Regions from separate parts of the Homo sapiens genome. Here region 2 is linked to region 1. Evidence: promoter capture Hi-C in human tissues and cell types (Jung and others, 2019). All regions are on one chromosome and are shown on one strand. Each heading gives the region's core, a stretch centred on a gene start or on the middle of the fragment in contact. The rest is flanking DNA. Distances are from core to core; before and after follow the strand shown.

Region 1 (3,003 bases), core at 296-2,795:
ACTGTATCCGAGTCGCTGCAGCCAGCGGACAGATGCAGTGGAACTATGGTTATGTGCTGCTCTGCCTGGGAGAAGCGACGGGAAAGCCGAGGTTCTTTCCAAAGCTAATGGGCGGGGAAGAAAGACTGCTCGGAATTACTGGGTAGTATCATCTAGGAAAGGATTGCAGCGGGAGTGGATACCCTCCCCAGGGCTCCTCTAACTTTTTGAAAAGAGCGCGAGTGGACTGGGAACCATTCAAGGGATATTTGTCTTCTAGGCAATCCTGCTGGTAGGGTTCATTAGTTTCTAGAAGGCTAGTGTGATTTAGATTCTTGAGATGATTCAAGGAATGTGGCCTTTATCAAGCCCGACTTTCCGGGTGATGCTCCACATATTTTACCCAGGGTGGGAGAAATAGCACGCTGTCACCGAGACCCTCGCTCATCGGGGCTCCCACTGGTTCACTGCAGCTAGCTAGCAGTTAAAGTTTACTGCTTAGGTTGGGTGGGGGGGCATATTTTCTTAGAAGCTCCTGCCTTCCTCAGTTCATTACTGTAAACCCCGTACCTTAAAAGACTCGGCTTCTTCTCACTAACAAAGAAAAAAAGCAAAACAAAACCAAAACACACACACGCACACACACACACTCTCTCTCTGGGAATTTCCACAACTTCCCTTGAATGTGTAAGGATTTCTAAATGTTAGACTTGTTTGGATAGTATGAAAGGACAAAGTATCAGCACTCAGAAATGTCAACCTTTGAACCTCGAACACTTTCTGATTTATAAAAAGAATCCTTCCAAAAAGATGCAGGAGCCCTAATGTAATCGTTAGATCTGAAGGGGGAAATCTGTAAAAAAAAAAAAAAAAAAAAAAAAAAAGTCAATCACAAATGAGCCATTTAATACTTGCAAGTTGTTTAACATTGAAATGATAATATTTGCTTCCACAATAAAAAGTCCAAGGTACCTAGCCAAGTTTCAAACTATCCAGGCTTTAAAAAGTCAACCCTTCTCCCAATAGAAGGTTAAAACAAAAATCAGATTGAAATTATCAAATCACTTATGTTGTAAATAAATTCACTTTACTTTCAGAACATTATAAATTAAGGACTGGCATCAATAGACTGCTTTGATTTATGTTGCTTTTTCTACTAATTAAACAAAATTAACCCCCCACTCCTTCCCTCCTTTCTTTTTCCCCACACACTTTTCTGGTGTTAATGGCAAAACATCTATCAAATATTTTTAGAATTTCCTCTCCTCCACAAAAAGAGAAAATATAGACACAGGAAAAATAAATAGTCTTTATATACTCGGAATACCAAAGTTCCCTCCTAATTTATTACTTCACCTTTTCCTTGATTTACAATCTTCTCTCTGCTCTTCTGGCTGAAAGAGGGAAATCTTCTCAGCAGTCTTTTCCAGAAATATTTTTTGTTGTTCTTCAGAAAACATAAAATTAAATCTTAAAATGAATTAAAAGCTTCTTGAAAGGAGACTTCTGTTCCCACTAAAGGCAATTATTAGAAAGCAGGTACCTCTTCCAAGCTGCCCTGTTTATTACTTTCCGTAGAAATTCTCCTCAATATATACCCAGGACCCTGACTTTTTGCCTGTTTTGGAAAGGATATTTTCTGACATCATAATCTAGTTCCTAACATAACTGAGTAATCTCCATCATAATAATGCAGAGGATGCATGACTGCAAATGAGACACAGCAAGAGCACCCCCTACCACCTCCCTCCCCCCCCCGTCCCCCCAGCCCACACACACACCTTTTTTCTAAGGTTTAGAAATAGAACAAGTGCCAATAGAAGCTAAATGTTTGCTTAGGCCTTGCTGTCATGTAAATGCACCTTAGCAAATGGGAAGGCCTGCCTCTAATCTGAAGTATTTCCATGTTTAGCATTATAAGATCTACACCTACACAAATGCCTAGCCCATGAGCACCAGGCTTCCATCTTCCCATCCCCAGTGGCAGTTTATTACAGTATATCAAATTTTAAAAGAGGTTGAAAAAATTTTAAATGCATTACTCTTAAATTCAGTTGAATACCCAGTTAATGTATATCTCCTGTCATAGCTTAGAAAAAAGTAAATAGCATTTATGCTTAGCCTCTTCATCCTTCTTTCTTCTTTCCTCCTTAACCCAAACAGCAAACAGATATACATTATAAACCAAATATGAATCTATAGCACTTTAAACAGTGCACCTGGGCTTGGGAATTCTCTTATTACCAATAAGCATCCAGATTTCACATTTACCAATCTGTAGCTGCAAGCTATGTCTCTAAAATCCCCTGGAACCAAACAACTAAACTCATCCCATCTCTTCTCCAAACTTTTTTCAATGTTTACAAAGAGACGTTGCATAATCAGCTCAAGTAATGCTCTCATTGGATTCCATTAGAATGTGGCTCTCATCGCTCGCCTGGACTGAGACTTGAGAGGAGGCTGTTGCCAGCTGACCTCAAGGTAGCAAAAAAGAAAAAAAGATGTAATGCCTTCAAACCCCAAGTAACAATAGGAAAGGGTGTGTTTCTTTATTAAATCTTTTTGTAGTTAGGTGAGGATAAGACTTCTCCAGGAACAGGGCGGGCTGCTAACCTCTGGAGGAACTGCCTCAGGGAGGAGTGTATAGATATGCATCAAGCTGATGGGATCCTCCCATGGGAAAAGTGGGCCTCACACCCTTCCTCACCCTTCCCTACTTCCTGGGCAATGTTCTGCTTCCCCCAAACTGAAGCAGGAGGCCCAGAGAGGAGGCGGTTTCCTGGGAGGAACCCAAACCAATGTGAGATGAGAAGGTCTTTAGGAAATGGGGGTCTCTGAGAACCGGTTCTTAAAGGTCAAGCACTTGAGCACCTCGCAAACTCCTGACAATTGAAACATATCTGAAGAGTCTTCTTCAGATATGTCTCTGTGTGTGTGTGTGTGTGTGTGTGTGTGTGTGTGTGAGAGAGAGAGAGAGAGAGAGAGAGAGAGAATATGAATGTGCAGTGTCCCAGTCCTGATCTC
Region 2 (3,003 bases), core at 310-2,809, 1.1 Mb after region 1:
TAGTGCATTGGACAAGGATGATGAGTACTGTGCTTCTGGCAACTTCAGAGATAAGTATGCAACCAACAAATCCAGTCTGGCTGAGATTAACCCACGCTGTACACTAAGAGTCAGAAATCTTTTTCTGTAAGAGGCTAGATAGTAAATATTTTCTTTTATGTTTTTGGCCATAGGGTCTGTGTTGAAAATACTAAACTCTGCTTTAGCAGCATGCAATCAGCCATAGACAATGCATAAGTGAAGGGTCATGGCTGTGTTTCAGTAAGATTTTATGTATAAAATTAGGCAATGAATCATATTTGGCCCACAACTTCTAATAGTCCAATCCCTGCTACACACCATTGCTTCTCCTTATATCTGTACCTTCTCCAAATCCAGCACTGGTGAGCATCCTAGTAACTGTAATGCTGCAACACAGTTATGACCACCCTGGAGTTTATCACCTCTCTACTCATACCAGCAATGCCATCCTTACTTCTTCTAACTGGTTAGTATACCAGTTCTACAATCCAATTCTGAGAATTGGCTTCTAAGGACCACTTGTATGCCAACTGTCTTAGTTTGGGTTCTCTGAAAGCAGTGGATAGGACAAGGACATGGGTGAGGATATTTTATTATATTTGGGATATAATCCCAGGACACAGGAGTGAAGTAATGAAAGGAGTGAAACAAGGAAGGAAGAGAGGAAAATATAAGGAAACATCAAAATATCTGCTGTGGACAATGAGAACCTCAAGAAAAGCATGCAAAATATTTCCTAGAATTATAACTTAACAGTCCAAAGAATGGAAGCCTGTAGTCCTTATACACTGGCTCTCATCCTATTTATGGATGGTTATTTACTACCCTGAAATTCTAGACTGAATTTGCGCATGGGCTAAGCAGGATCTTCCAGGCTTCTGCAGAGTGTGAGATAGCCCTAGAACAGAAAGTGAAAAGATGCACGGTGCACCTGTCAGTACAAGGTGATTCTAAGGTTGCGCTGAACTATCATCACAGTTATGGCTGAAATCAGAGGTGGGCCAGGGGAAATTACTCAGGGCGTTAGAGGTAACAGTAAAACAGTGAGGGAGCACATAGAGGAAAATGTATTTTAGTACTAAGAAAGAATCATCCAAATAAACAGAAGCTTCAAAGTACTGAGAAGAGGAGTGGGGTGGCCTCATGCACAGAGTCGAAAAGCCACCGTACACTGGACAGGGGGCCCAAACTAAAACCAAGTGTCCAAGTGTCTGTTTTTTACTGCCCATCTTACATCCAGTTGTGTGGTCTGAAGTTTTCAGTCACTTTAAGACAAAGTAGATTCAGAGCAGCTCCTCCCTCTGAGTTCAAAATGAGGAGTGCCCTATTATTCTCTCCCCGGTCTCCATGGAGACATAAATGCCCAAGTAACTGATGCTACTACCTGGAGGGACTCACCTTTACCAACACCAAGGGAGCCAGCCCTGAGAGTTCATGCCAAGTCATCTTTCTCCTGCTTTGTTCCCTGGAACTGATAAACTGCTGCTTCGAAAAACCAGAAGGCCTTGCCTCTATTTTGTTTTCAGTTCTACTCCCTAAGAGCCTCAGCATAAATATGAGAGGAGATAAAGGGAAAGTTAAGAAACTTCTGTTAGCATTCTGATGTTCAAACCCAAGGTAAAATTTTAAAAATTAACCAGGTGTGGCAGCATGCACCTGTGGTCTCGGATATATTGGAGGCTGAGGCAGGAGGATCACTTGAGCCCAGGAGTTGAGTCTGCAGTGAGTCAGGTTTGCTCTCCTGCAAAACATAGCCTGGGTGACAGAGCAAGACCCTGTCTCAAAACAACAACAACAACAACAAAAAATCAAACTAAATCAACAAACAAACAAAAATCATTAAGAATAAGATCCTTAGTACAATTCAATGTTTTAAAAATAAAAAATTTATATATTTAACAAATCTGTTCAAAAATTAAGTAAATTGTTACATAGTTAACATAAACTGTTATACACTCATATGTTAACATGCACATGTTACTCATATACATATGTATATACTTATACACTTATATGTTAACACATTACATACTATTCAACTCATAACTCATATTTTAAAATTATCTAAGGACATTAAAAATTATCATATTATAAAGTCAAGTGTAAAAAATGCACAAACATTATCAGTGAGTTTTCAGTTTATATGAGTAAGGTGGTGTATTTTCTTTTCACTGCAGTCTTGATCTTCCTGTTGAGGGCCATCCAAGAGCACCATGATGAAGTGGAAAGAGATTGTTCACAAGAATGATCACTTACAGAAGACTGAGCCCAAGGCCCTTGCTGATGGATTCCCAGACTTATATGCATCCGAGATTGAAGAACTTAAACATCTTGCCCTTGCCATGACCACAAATCAGAGGTAAAGTTCAAACAATGCCTCAGATGTCTCAGAACCAAGCACTTCTGAAGTGTCTGCTGAGCTTAGCAGAGTTTCTGCTGCAGAATGGGTGACAGTATAGGGGCATAAAAGTTTGTTCTAAAAACAGTGGGAAAACGGAGGAACTGTTCTATATATAGAAACAGGAGTAATAAAAGTCTTTCATAGCATAAGAATGCAACTAGCAGTGACTAATGTCTTGTGGTTCTTTCTAGAGTAATAAAATTTAATGTCCATGGACTTTGACCTTCAAAAGACCAAAGACAGGCTGTTTCAAGAACGCGGTCTTGAACAATTTGTTGACATCTTCACAAAAGAAAAATAATTCTCTAAATCAGTAACTGAGTCTCCGGAAGGTAAGGAATCCTGATTTCATGAAATAAGGACAGCATCACAGATCTAAGGGGAAACAAAGCCTGAAAAAGAGGAAGAAAGGAAAAGACTATTCGTAAGCTTTCAAAGGAGATTGGATGGAAATTCTGTAATTAGAAGGTTACCATGTGTGGAGGGCTGTGGGGCAGGCAGCATTCAGTGTCATTTTGCATTCTTATAGAGATCTGAAATGTGTTTCCTTACTTTGCCTTTTCCAGGTTTCTTCTTGGAAA

What was found. Contacts are between HindIII fragments. The study calls those that stand out against the background at their distance.
Region 2: a contact is called between a fragment that was not itself captured here and the fragment with the promoter of PTHLH in region 1, in 1 of the 25 tissues and cell types used here (lymphoblastoid cells).

The regions. Positions count from the first base shown.
Region 1 is chr12:27,971,188-27,974,190 of GRCh38, forward strand. PTHLH (parathyroid hormone like hormone) reads right to left here and starts at 1,546. Exons shown (of 6, transcript NM_198965.2): 1 at 1,336-1,546; 2 at 740-832. The HindIII fragment of the contact is 6,422 bases long and covers 1-3,003 here.
Region 2 is chr12:29,039,255-29,042,257 of GRCh38, forward strand. It overlaps LOC101928735 (a long non-coding RNA gene), which reads left to right and starts at 1,362. Exons shown (of 5, transcript XR_242930.3): 1 at 1,362-1,638; 2 at 2,199-2,380; 3 at 2,614-2,754; 4 at 2,989-3,003. RefSeq lists a silencer at 1-48 and an enhancer at 2,138-3,003. The HindIII fragment of the contact is 5,013 bases long and covers 1-3,003 here.